Linked DNA regions of Homo sapiens: region 1 is linked to region 2. Evidence: promoter capture Hi-C in human tissues and cell types (Jung and others, 2019). All regions are on one chromosome and are shown on one strand. The core of a region is centred on a gene start or on the middle of the fragment in contact, and the rest is flanking DNA. Distances in the headings are between cores, read along the strand shown. Region 1 overlaps FHDC1 (FH2 domain containing 1). Region 2 holds the start of MND1 (meiotic nuclear divisions 1).

Region 1 (6,963 bases), core at 4,056-6,555, 380 kb after region 2:
GCCAAGAACAGCTCAACTGCAGAAAAATAGGCCTCTTGACAAGAATCTACATGGGAGCTCAGCTCCACCTCGTATGTTTCATCTCTAGATCCTGTGGGGATTGACAGAGTACCAGGAAGGAAAATCTTAAACACACTGAAGTCACCCTTTGGACTTGGGAAAATGAAACATTCTGAATGTGGATCTGAACAGTAACCACACTTGAAGTTACCGGGCAGGAGTTCTACATGATTAGGGCCAGAAATGGAAAAGTTCAAAGCTACACTGGCAAAGCAAGAATGTCAACAGGTTAGCAGCTGTAGTGTCCAAGTCAACCTTACATCTCTAACTTGCCTGCTACACACTGAAGTTTCAAACAAGTTTACTCAGTATTTCTTACCCCAAGGGTGAAAATGCTGAAATAGATCTGCAAAAATGTGTTCCTGTTATTTTTCTGCTCTGAATCCTTGAAGAGTTCCCCACTTCTTATGGCATAGAGTTTGAGTCCAGCATTCAGACTGGTGTTCAGAGACCTGAGTGCCCTGACCCTGACCTACCTCGAAAAATTTTATCTCACCTATTCAAAAGGAAGTTGAATTTAAGAAAGAAAAGTATGCAGCTGTATGAAACGTTTTACTTATAGAGATAAAAATGACTGGGTTGGCGCAGTGGCTCATGCCTACAATCCCAGCACTTTGGGAGGTGGGCGGATCACGAGGTCAGGAGATTGAGACCATCCTGGCTAACACGGTGAAACCCCATCGCTACTAAAAATACAAAAAATTAGCCTGGTGTGGTGACATGCGCCTGTAGTCTCAGCTGCTCAGGAGGCTGAGGGAGGAGACTCACCTGAACCCAGGAGGTGGAGGTTGCAGTGAGCCGAGATCGTGCCACTGCACTCCAGCCTGGGTGACAGGGTGAGACTCTGTCTCGGGAAAAAAAAAAAAAAAAAAACGACTGCCAGAAAGAAGTGTAAAGGGTTAAAACAAGACTGACTATGAAAAGCAGTCCAGAGGTGAGGCTAAGTCAGAGCTGTTCTTCATCCTAAGCTTCTCTGTGTGAATATTGACTGAGATGGTAATAGTTAATATGAGAACTTGGAGGAATGAAACATCCAGAATTTTAGTCTTGATGTGCAATGGTCCTTATTCTTGATTTTCCGGATTTGTTTAATGCATTCGTTTACTGTTCAGTATTTTTGTGGTATTGGTGGTGGTGTTTGTAACAAGAAAATTAGTTTGGTTTTACTTGAAGGAAAATACAGAGCACATGTTTAATAATAAAAATAAACTCACAGCAGAGCCAAACAAAATCAAGCATCCGCCGAAGGCCATAATATTTTGAAGGAGCTGAATTAAGAAGCGAAGGCTTCAGCTGGCACAACCTCAGGAGCACACTGTTCCTCCCCAGTGCCAAGGGCAGCCCTGCTACATGATTCCACCTCACAGGTCTCAAAACACTAACAACACTTCAGGTAGCATAGCCTTTCGCTGAAGACTAAAAGCATGAGATGGTGCCTTTTTTTTTTTTTTTAATAAGGAAGATAAAAGAAGTATGTCAGACTATGCGATTAGTGAGTCACAGTGAGCTGTCACAAACATGTCCACTCTGCTGTTTTTTGTTGATGTTATTTGGAGCAGCTCCCGACACACCCTGTGGGCCCTGCGTACTCCTGGTGTTGACGGGCACAGCTCTCATGTGTTCTGCTGCTCTCATTATAAAACATGCCAAAACGCAGCTTGTTTCTTCAACATAAACAAGTGAAGAAATGACAGCCCAAGTTCTAAGGCATCTTGATTTCTGTGGAACTTTGTTCTGTTATCCGAAAGTTTAACTGGTTTAGAAACAAAACTTGAGTTGCCAGGTATAGCCCAAGTGCAACTCCATGGCTGATACCAGTTCACCACAGTAAACTGCAATCGTGCAAACTGAGCAGTGAACAACAGGAGCCTCGCAGAAGCACTGTCCCTAAACAAATACATCAGGCTTGGGCTGGGCGCGGTGGCTCACACCTGTAATCCCAGCACTTTGGGAGGCCCAGTGAGTGCGGATCACCTGAGGTCGGGAGTTTGAGAGCAGCCTGGCCAACATGGCAAAACCGCGTCTCTACTGAAAAAATACAAAAATTAGCCAGGTGTGGTGGTGCATGCCTGTAGCCCCCAGCTACTCGGGAGGCTGAGGCAGGAGAATTGCTTGAACTAGGGAGGCGGAGGTTGCAGTTTGCCGAGATCGCACCATTATACTCCAGCCTGGGTGACAGAGCAAGACTCCCTCTCAAGACAAACAAACAAACAAGTCAAACAAACGAAGAGACAAAAAAAAAAAATATATCAGGCTTAGATCACATTTAACATCCTCTGCAAAGAATGGGCATGGAAATACCAAGTTCCTCTGACTAACTTGGAGAAAAAAAATATGAATGGGAACTGCTGCTTCCACAAATACACCCATGCAAATTTAACCAGCCCCGGGGTGCTGCTGGGAGATGAGATTAGAGGGACTGACTTGAGTCACCTACAAACCTGAAGAAAATCTTCCATCTGCTGACAAAGTTCACCATCCCGCTGGATGTTTTCTTTTAGTGATTTTGTCCTGACAAACAGCAAGTGCAGTTCTGCCTCCGTGTTCTCCAGAGATAATCTAAAAGAAGAAAGGGGAGAGTGGGCAGTTGGAACAAGGAAGCCATGTGTCATGTAGGTATATTAAATAAGACTAACTGTTGTTCAACCTTGGAAACAGAAGGGGAGAGCTACTGTGATGATATTTATCTACCCCTGTATTTAGATCTTTTGTGTTTCCTCCTGTTTTAAGAAGTGATTCGTTTCTAAAGACATATACTGGTTCAAAGAGAGCAGGTTGTAACTGTACTCTTGATGGTAAGATAAACAAAACCATGGGATCTGCAAACGTTTTCATAAACTAGCTCTGAACACCTTTATGCAATAAGCATTACAAACTAAATGCCAGCGGCTTCCGGGATTCATATGCTTTCCATGGGCCACTAAACACAAATAGGAAACTCTAACCCACAAGAAGCAAGGCAATATATGTTGATAATTCTAACACTAAGGGTAACAGTGAGAAAATAGCAGATTCCATGAAAATAGCAGATTCCACAGGTGGCCAGAGCAGGCTTTCTATATTTTACAGAGAACTAAAACATAGCTAACAAATGTGCAACTTTTTTTTTTTTGAGACACAATCTCCCTCTGTCACTCAGGCTGGATTGCAGTGGCCTGATCTTGGCTCACTGCAACCTCTGCCTCCTGGGTTCAAGCAATTCTCATGCCTCAGCCTCCAGAGTAGTTGGGATTATAGGCATGTGCCATCATGCCCAGCTTAATTTTTGTATTTTTAGTGGAGACGGGGTTTCGCCATGTTGGCCAGGCTGGTCTAGAACCCCTGAGCTCAAATGATCTGCCCACCTCAGCCTCCCAAAGTGCTAGGATTACAGGTGTGAGCCACCAGGCCCAGCTGATTTTTATTATTATTATTATTTAAAGAGACAGTCTCACTCTGTTGCCCAAGCTGAAGAGCAGTGGCAAGATCATGGCTCACTGCAGCACTGACCTCCTGGGCTCAGGTGATCCTCTCACCACAGCCTTCCAAGTAATTGGGATCACAGGTGTGCGCCACCACACCCAGCTAATTTTTAAATTTTTTGTAGAGACAGGGTCTTACTATGTTGCCCAGACTGGTCTCAAACTACTGGTCTCAAGCAGTCTTCCTGCCTTGGCCTCCCAAAGTGCTGGGATCACAGGCATGAGCCACCACAGCCAGCCCTAATTCTGCAAATTAACAGTTGGATTGATTGCAATGCTTTTGTTATATACATCAAATCAAGATAGGCAGAATGTGGGCCTGGCATGGTAGCTCAGGCCTGTAATCCCAGCACTTTGAGAGGGTGGGGCGGGCAGATCACCTAAGGTCAGAAGTTCGAGACCAGCCTGGCCAGTATGGTGAAACCCTGTCTCTACTAAAAATACAAAAAAATTAACTGGGCATGGTGGCGGGTGCCTGTAGTCCCAGCTACTTGGGAGGCCGATGCAGGAGAATCACTTGAACCCAGGAGGCAGAGATTACAATGAGCCAAGATTGCACCACTGAACTCCAGCCTGGGTGACACAGCGAGGCTCTATCTCAAAAAAAACAAAAGATAGGCAGAATGTGAATGATGGTTTTGTTACCCAGAAAACTGAGTAGGCGAAACCTAAAATGCATGTGAAATTCATAAATTAGGATGCATTCATGCTTCCATTGTCAATTCAAATGTTTCTTTGTGCAATAAAGTTTTCCACCTTCACTGGTCACCGGCACATATCTGAGACCTGTTTGTATTTCCCAAGTGTATTTCACCTTCCATTTCAAATAAACAAGCTTGCTGAATAGGATTTTTCTAAGACAATATCTAGCTCCAATCCAGCTCTGACCAGAAACGCCATTTCAAAAATATAATGCTAATTTCTATCTATATATCTCTTAGGAATATTTTTATACTAATTACAGTAAAAATGTTCCCACACAAATTTCTTTCAGTAAGTCAAAAGTTCCTATCTTATAAGATGTCCATTCTTTTTAGAGAACAATCTAGAGATCTGTAAACATGAATTATAAACTGTTTACACCTCTGAACTGATAATCCCACTTTGGGAAAGACATGTAATCTGTGGCTAGATATTCATAGAATCAGTAACTTTTGAGGTACAGGCCAGTGGCAGGGCTGTGAGCTATGGTTCATTTATTTATATGCATATGGTTCACAGATGTCATAGTTGGATACACTCAGTAAGTATATGCTAGGAACTGGCTTGACACATGAGCGGTGGCTGAACCTGCTCATGAGAACCAACTGTGGGTGTCTCTTCCTAATTTGCATTCAGTAATGTATGTCAGCAGCTTGACATCAGCCATGGTTACGGTATTTACAACACGGAAATCAGCAAATGCTACAAATCAGGACTTTTTTCTCCAACAGCTGGTTATTGAACATTTACCGTGGGATGTGTGGATGTAATATAAATTTTAAAACACATATACAAAAGTCAAAATAGTATATACACACAGAGTCTAGCTACATTAAGATACATATCTACATTAGGATCAGAAGCAAATTAGAGTGATGTAATTAGAGCCTTATGTTTGGCAGATACTTTCTCTGTATGTGCCTTTCTCTGTGAGTGACTAATTTAAAGTAAAATCATTTCACAGCTCTTGGTACGGTTACAAACTCTTTTAATGCAAAGGAAAATAAATGTACCATGTTAGATTCTACAAGGAAACAGTGAAATGTGGCCATGAAAGTTTGATTGATATATACCAACTCCCAAGGAAATAGGTGGTGCTGTTTAAGCTCTATCTCTTGGGCGTGGAGGGATTTGAAATTATTAATCCATATTTTTTATACTGATGATATTCATTAGAATAGACTGAAATAGTTTCTTTAGTTTACAAATAAAGATTAATTTTTCAAAACCCCCAAATTCCAAAGGTGCACACACACCTGTGTTAAGCAAATGAAGGACAGTCTGAAAGTTCAATGAAACAAAACCTTTTAGACTTCAAACTGGAATCTAAAAGTTTTAACTATTTATCAGTTTTCATAAAAAGGTAAAGAATCTTGAATTCTCACAATTCACTTGCTCACCTAGCAGTCTTCTGAACATGATGCAATTTTTCTGAAAAGTTTAGAAGAATGGTATCTTTCTTTTGGGCTTCCTGGAACAAAAACAGAATTTTATCTCACTATGTTGATAAAACTGGAAGGAAATAATTTTCTTAGGGCTTAAAGGAATCTTAAAATCACTGCTCCTGTTTTTAAACTTGACACATTCAAAGCATTTCACTGAGACATGAACTCTGATACTCTTAGTAAGATTTGCTAGAACTCTCCTACTCTCAAGATACATTTACCTTTCCAGAGCAATTGATCTTGACACAAAATACAATTAATGAGCATTTGGCTGCAGCTCAGCAGGGCCCCTTGTTTCTGAAAGAATCCAATATATCCTGCTTAAATACCACCCATACCTGTGAGCATGCCTTTAAATGAGCGAGATACCTTCAGCTGTTAAACCAGTTTGCAAACAGAGTTTAATCAGAAGGTACAGGAGCCATGGCAGTGTTTGGATTCTTCACCTGTTCAGGAGGTGAGAGGAAGGCAAGTGGGAAGGAAGCAATGACTGACCCAGGAGGCTTCGCCACATGGACAGAGACCAAGTTACCCAGAGGGCCTGGACACTTGGATTCAGGAGAGCTTTGCCCGAATACTATCCACGACCCTTGCTGGGCAAGGAACACATTTTCTTCTTTTAATGCCTGAAAATTAACCTTTCAATTAAGTCCCAAGCTAAACATGGCCCTTTGTCTTCTGAAGAATATAGTAATAATAGTGTGTATGGTTATTTATGGAGAGCTCACCATAGGCCAAACATTGAGATAAGCACTTTATGGAGTCAGCTCCTTCAGCACTCTCAATTACCTAGTTTTGGGGTAAGTTATCACTACTCTCACCATTAGATGAAGAAATTGAGGGTCTTCAGGTTTAAATAACTTGCCTGAGGAAGTAGAGCTAGCAAAGGACAGTCAAAATCTCCCAGTCCTGTCCTGTTCTGAAGCTCACATTCAAAACAAGACTGCACCACGGCTTCCTCCCCAGGTTAAAGCTACGACTACAGCACTGATGTCAAAACAACTGAGTGATTCAATGGAGGAAAAGCCAATCAGTTCCATTAGCTGAGATCATTTCAAAACAAAGATATAACTGTCCTTGATTTTCCACTTTGTTCCTCACTTTTTTGGTGTTATAGAGATCCAGTCAAAAAAAAAAAAAAAAAAAAAAAAAAAAAAAAAACAAAGCAATGGATAGGATCAGACTCCAAACCCTGTGCTAGCAGCATGGTGCTCAAATGCATGGTTCACGGAGAAAGACAGAAGTGACCTTTCTACACATAACTGGTCACAAATCTAGTCAATTCCACATCAGAA
Region 2 (6,588 bases), core at 1,669-4,168:
GTTTACTTGTCCGTATCAGCACACTGAAAAACTTCTTCAGAACATGAACTGCCTTTGCCTTTCCAGGGCTTAGTGCCAAGTTAGACAAGGGAGACATAAAGCTCTTAATTTTAGGACCATGTATCTAAAGCCCCCAACTCTAAAATTTGAGGCTGCTCAGGCTCCTAAGCCCCCCAACACCTACCATACTCCCATAGATATAACAGGTGAATTAATCATAGTGAATTCAGTGACATCATGTATTGCCTGGCTTGAAGAGACAAATCAGAGAAATCTCAGTTAGGCAAACTCCAGGAACCCATACAGATCTGCTCACTAAACCTAGGGCTGAGAGCTAGGGTCCAGGACTGCTCTATTTGCCTCCCTTCATTCTCACCTCTGCAGTATCTGACAAATCAAGCATGAAATTCATAACAGTTAGAAGACTCCTTCAACATATTTTTCTAGTCCAATAGGTCCTAAACTGCCATACATTAGAATCACCTCAGGAGTTTTTAAAAAATACCGATGCCCAGGCTCATCTCTAATGAATGGAATCAAAATCTCTGGAATGGGACCTGGGCAACATATTTTTTAAATCCTCCAACTTATTTTAAAAATCCTCTCCAACATATTTTTTAATTGTGCCCCAGGGTTGAGAACCCTACTTTTGTCAGCCCAGAATCTGAAGGCCATGTCAAGGGCGCTGCGGGGCAATGGGAATCCCTTTAGAATTTCAGTGTGTCGCTGCACTAGCAGAAAGCAGATCCTGAAGTGTTAGGAAAGACTCCTAACATTTTGATATTCGAAACAGCTCCTTGCACTCCACAAGAATCTGCCCCCCAGAGGCAGGCAATGAGGAGAATCTAGCGTCCTGGGGTACCCAGTTTTAGGAAAGCTCTCAACACTCAGCTCAGCAGCTATGAAAGTTACTCAAGAAATGTGGATGAGCTGTATCATCCATTTACCTTGTTTTCAGGCTGATTTATTCATCAGTCTCTTTCATGACTAGAAATAATTTCTATTATTAACCACAGTAGGAGTATCATAGCCAGAATTAAAATAACTAATGTAAAAAGATGCCATATTAATACTCATATTTAGAAACTTCTCAAAAAAATCAATGAGGATTTATCTAATATTTAATTAAGACTAGGAAAAACCTGATAGTATAAGTTAGAGATGCATTCAAATTAGTAAGTCAGGAGACTCAAAACCTGACTCAAGGACTATGAAGCTTTCTGGAAGTATTTTAAACCACTTAAAAAATCATGTTATCTGAGGAACCTTCTCAGTTAGAAGTTATGGAATTCCTACAGCCAGCCCTACTAATCAATTACGATAAAATTATGAAGAATTATTAAGTAGACATCACTGCTGCTCTCAGAGTTCAGCACTGCACTTCTCCAATTTCAAAAATTGCCTGAACTCATTAACTATTTACTTAGGATGCCTAACCAAATGAAAACAGCTATTAATTCATAATCAATCAAAAGTTTACCTTTGACCAACACTAAATTTATTTCTCGATCACATATTAAAAAATAGGAAGTCCACATCTTATCAAAAGCTTTAATTTTTTAAAAGGATTCTCTATTATCGGAGGTAAGCTTCTAAAGAGTTAACACATTTAGTATTAGCAGGTGATTCATGTGTAGAGAGATAGATTAGGTAAAAGGACAACGCGCGTTTGAGCTGCACAGTTCTCCAAGTCAGTTATACGAGGCCAGCAACTCTGCAGAGAAAAATTGTAACACAGAAGGGCACTGCTAACAGATTTGTTTTAACTGTAGTCCTGTTTGGCTCCTTAGAGCACTTCACGCCCAGGTGGCTGGGTTGTTAGTTTAACCACAAAGAAGCCGTTATCATTTATAACTACATCTGGACAAATATCTTCAAATAAATACCATACAACTGGATCCTGGTGTCCCACCCTGCCCCCCTTAGCTCGGCAACATTTAACGGCCACGTAAGTAAATGAAGATATTAAAATCTTAGATCCATTTAACCAGATGTTGATTCTTCGCCAACTGAAGCAGAAAAAACGGCATGAAACTTTGAAGGTTTATGAAAATGATTTGATGAGCAGAAAGACGTTAAGCTCACAAAGCCGATCTTACCAGGACTTAACTGATCATGACCCACGAGGAAGCCTAATTCAGTGCAGAGCGTCCTTAAAAAAGCAACAGCGCCCTACACAACCAGCAGCACCCGGCACAAGAGCAGCGACTCCTGCCCTTTGGCAGAAACCGGGGCGTTTTCACAGAAATCGACTAATTGGCACACAGTGAAGATCCATTAGGTAACTCGAAACTGAGCAGTTCTGGAATGTGCTCTACATATTACAATACAGAAAACCACTCAATGGTGACAAACCAGGAGTGCGCTTTGGGATCAAGACGTTCGCTCCCCGCAGTCCCTCCCGCCCACTTGCGCTTTCTCTCCCCGTTCTTAATGGGGGGGGCTACACCACGCGGGGCCGAAGCTGGAGGCGTAGGGAGCCCAGGTTCTCAAGGGCCCCGTGGTCTTTTAGATAAATCCAGGTTGGTGAAGTTCTCGGGTCACGTTCGCGAACGCTTCCCGCGTTCTAACCTAACCCGCCCGAACGGGCCCTGGGGACAGACGCGGGGTGCAGCCGGCGGGGAGGCCGCGGATGCCCCCGCGCCTCGGGACTCCGGACAGGAGCGGCGGGGAACGCCGCAGAGTGCGGAGTGGCTGCGGCGGGGCCGGGCTGGGCCCCTACACGGTGAGGCCGAGAGCCGGGCGACCGCTCCCGCGGCCCGGAATGGCGGTCAACGCCAGGCCGGGATCCACATGCAGCCGAGGGGCGGCGAAGCCCACACACTAGGGAGGAAGAAGACGCGGGACCGTAGCCTCAGTCCTTACCATGGCGCGGGCGCAGGGGCTTCCGCTGGCCGGGCCCGCGCTTGGGGAGAGGGGCGGGACAGGCCAGGACGCGTTTGATTTTGGCGCCGACTACGCCGCGGGGGCGGAGCAGCGAGACGGTGGAGGTGGGGGAAAGAGGCCGGTCCTCGCCCGCGCGGCGCGCAGCGACCCCTAGCGACCCATCCGAGCCGCCGGCGGGGGAAGGGGCGCGGGCCTGGGGCCGGGGCTGTGGGGAGCGTGTCCGCGTCTCAGTGGACGGGTTGCAGAGCTGCCTCCGTCTCCTCGGTATTCTGTGAATGTGACCTTTTTTTTTTTTAAGGACATCTTGCCTTTGCTTTTACTGCGTTTTCTTGGCGCCGCAGAAATATGGCCTAAGTTTGGATGTAAAAAATAGAGGCGTTTAGGCTGTTGAGGAAGGAAACGCTGCCTCCATCCTTCCGGACTTGTCCTGTCTGGGGCGGACTGGATTCCTTTCTCGTCTTCTAATCTGACCCCTCATCTTCTCCCGAGCCGCTACCCACTGCTTTCCAGCTTTTCAAATCCTGTGTATGTCTGTTTGTTTTTCCCTTAGGTTTTAAAAAAGAAGGAAACAACGGAATGAATTTCAAATCAACATGGTCAAAAATACGCTACTTCATGGCTTGAGAATAGATCCAGATTCATAGCAAAAGCTCAGGCCCCTGAAAGTGCTGAAAAATTTTAACTCAGAATTCAATTATTTTGAAAATTATTCTATGGTGTTTTGAACCATTTTTAGGTGTAAGAAGTACGGTTGGGCGCTGTGGCTCACACCTGTAATCCCAGCAATTTGGGAGGCCGAGGCGGGCAAATCACTTGAGGTAGGGAGTTTGAGACCAGCCTGGCCAACATGGTGAAATCCCATCTCTAATAAAAATACAAAAATTAGCCAGGCGTGGTGGCGGACGCCTGTACAATCCCAGCTACTCGGGAGGCTGAGGCAGGAGAATCGCTTGGACCCAGGAGGCAGAGGTTGCAGTGAGCCAAGACCCCGCCACTGCACTCCAGCCTGGGCGACAGAGTGAGACTCTGTAACACACACACACGCACGCACACACACACACACACACACACACAGTGTAGTAAGTCTTGTAGATGCTATAAGAGTAGCATCTAAAGTTGGAATTTATGTCCCCTGTTGCTTCTGCTGGAGGCAGAGGAAGGGGTACATTGAATTGCAGAGTTCCATTAATTTGGTTTTTCCTGTAAGAGTTATACCATGTAACTGATGGTACATAAGGTAATTTTAAAATGATAAATGAGTACATTAAGTAACTACAGTAGTGGTATATACATTTGTGCTACTTGGGGAAAGCCTTGTCTTAATTGGCTCTCAGGCTTGTTGCAGGTGAGTGGTGACTATCTGAGGCCAGTGGCGCTGTGGCAGAAAAATTTACCAAGGCAGTTGTAAGTAAAGAAAGGCAGAATCATTAGAGAAAGCATGAAAATACGTTGCAAGGGAGCAATGGGCAGAATCAGCAGAAAAGGAGCTGACTGCAAGGAAACAAAGGCTTGCTGGGGATTTTATAGAATAGTGCTTATGCTGTATACGGAAGAGGGCTTTGTGCAGTACTGATGTTACAGTCCCAAGTTTTCCTCCGCCCCTGCCTCTAAAGCGACACAGTGCAAAAGCCTGCCCTGGGACAGTAACAAATTGACCCAAACAGGTCTTCTTTTGGGAAAAATGAGTGCTAAATGGATATAAAAAAGGGTCACTTAAGCTGCATCTGTATCCTAAGTGTCACTGAGAGCTGCTGTGACAGTTCTCTGAGGTTCCTGTTGTGCATTGCAGTCTTGATCAACCAGACCTGGGAATCACCGCCACCTAGGAAAGAAGACACATTCTACTGCCTCTGGTTCCTTTGCATTTTCAGTACAAATACCTTAAACTTCAGATAACCTTCTGATGCCCCTTCCTTGACATTCTGAAAAGCATGACCTATAGGAGCAGCTTATTTATTTATTTAGAGTTGGGGTTTCGCTCTTTTGCCCAGCCTGGAGTGAAGTGGCATGATTTTGGCTCACTGCAACCTCCAACCCCTAGGTTCAAGCGATTCTCTTGCCTCAGCCTCCTGAGTAGCTGGGATTATAGGCGCCCACCACCACCCCCGGCTAATCTTTGTATTTTTAGTAGAGATGGGGTTTTACCATGTTGGCCAGGCTGGTCTCGATCTCCCAGTCTCAGGCGACCCATCCGCCTTGGCCTCCTAAAGTGCTAGGATTACAGGCGTGAGCCACCGTGCCTGGCAGGAGGAGCTTATAAAGGAAATAGGAAAACAAAGTCAAGTCACTTGGAAGAGACTGAGGAAAAAGTCTGCAATGTAGGAAAAGAAGTAGGAGAATGCAAAACCAAGAGAGGAGAAAATTTTAAAAGAAAAACTTTAGACAAATGAGTTCCTCTCGGCAACGTGGCCAGAGAGGTTTTTTGTTGTTGTTGTTTTGTTTTTTTGAGACAGGGTTTCACTCTGTCACCCAGGCTGGAGTGCAGTGGCACAATCATGGTTCACTGCAATCTAGAACTCCAGGGCTCGAGGGATTCTCCTGCCTTGCCCTCCCAAGTAGTTGGGACTACAGATGTGCATAACTATGCCTGGCTAATTTTTTAAAAATTTTCCATAGAGATGGTGTCTCCCTATGTTGCCTAGGCTGGTCTAGAACGCCTGGATTCAAGCAATCTTCCTGCCTTAGCCTCCCAAAGTATTGGGATTACAGGTGTGAGTCATGCCTAGCCAACAGGAAGTTTTTATAGACAGAAAAGGGAAGTGAGTTACAGAAATAGCTTGACTGATTACAGCTCCTTGTTTGAATTATTTGGCCACTGTCGGCAGCCTGTGGGCTGAAGCTCAGCTACTTGTGATTGGCTGAGAATTGGGGGTTTGTTACACACCATGCTTGGTTTTCAGTTTGTGTACCACGTTAGGTTGCAGTTCCTTACAATTCCTTAGGTAGGAACTCAAAGTGTGGAGACAGCTTCAAGCCAATGGCCGCCTGCTTATTTAACAAAATTTTAAGGAAGAAATAGTAAACATTATCAACCTGTCAGTCACAACACAGCTTCTGAGTTAGAAATGACAATGCAATCATGTCATTTGGGTAGGGCGTCATTCTCAATGGGATGACATCAAAATGGGTTCCTGGGAGACAAAAAGATCTTAGATGGTTTGTGCTCCAGTGGTTTGTGGCTCTCAGTACATAAACAGATGTACAGTATATCTCTGGTATTAAAATTTCATGGGACTGGGGATGGCATTGTGAACAGGGAAAAAACATCTAAAAAGGTTCTTTATGGGAATGGTAATGAGAAAAAAGGTTGAGAAAGACTGATGTCTAGTGAATATATAATTTATCATCCGAACTGAGACACTTCTGAGAACAGAAGGGAATGCTATTCCTATTTATGCTAGGACACAGGCATAAAGAGGATTGTCCCCATCAGCTATGTGATAACATGGAACTTCCATTATACTTTATTAACCCTTCTCCATGGCTCTTTAATTTTCCCTGTTTTATAGTTATTCTTTTAATCTTTCCATCTGGAATGTAAACTCCTTAAGAACAGGCACAGTAACATACTCTTTATAACGGTGCCTCATCAGTAATTTCTTCTTGAGAAATTCTGTGGTCTTGCCATATCAGACTATTTGTTATTCCCTGAACAACTCATGTTCTGGTGCCCTCTTTTAGCACAAGCCTGGGGGGAGTCTG

The links. The method cuts DNA at HindIII sites, captures the fragments that hold promoters and counts their contacts. A contact is called where the count stands out against the background at its distance.
Region 1: a fragment that was not itself captured here is called in contact with the fragment with the promoter of MND1 in region 2 in 1 of the 25 tissues and cell types used here (heart left ventricle).

Annotation. Positions count from the first base shown.
Region 1 is chr4:152,963,636-152,970,598 of GRCh38, reverse strand. It overlaps FHDC1 (FH2 domain containing 1), which reads right to left. Exons shown (of 12, transcript NM_001371116.1): 9 at 5,624-5,694; 10 at 2,502-2,619. Among named protein-coding and RNA genes, the nearest start is that of FHDC1, 31 kb to the right of the region's middle. The HindIII fragment of the contact is 5,225 bases long and covers 2,693-6,963 here.
Region 2 is chr4:153,341,018-153,347,605 of GRCh38, reverse strand. MND1 (meiotic nuclear divisions 1) reads right to left here and starts at 2,918. Exons shown (of 8, transcript NM_032117.4): 1 at 2,866-2,918. The coding sequence starts at 2,868. RefSeq lists enhancers at 1,810-1,929, 2,010-2,069 and silencers at 2,550-2,709, 2,840-3,149. The HindIII fragment of the contact is 8,470 bases long and covers 1,384-6,588 here.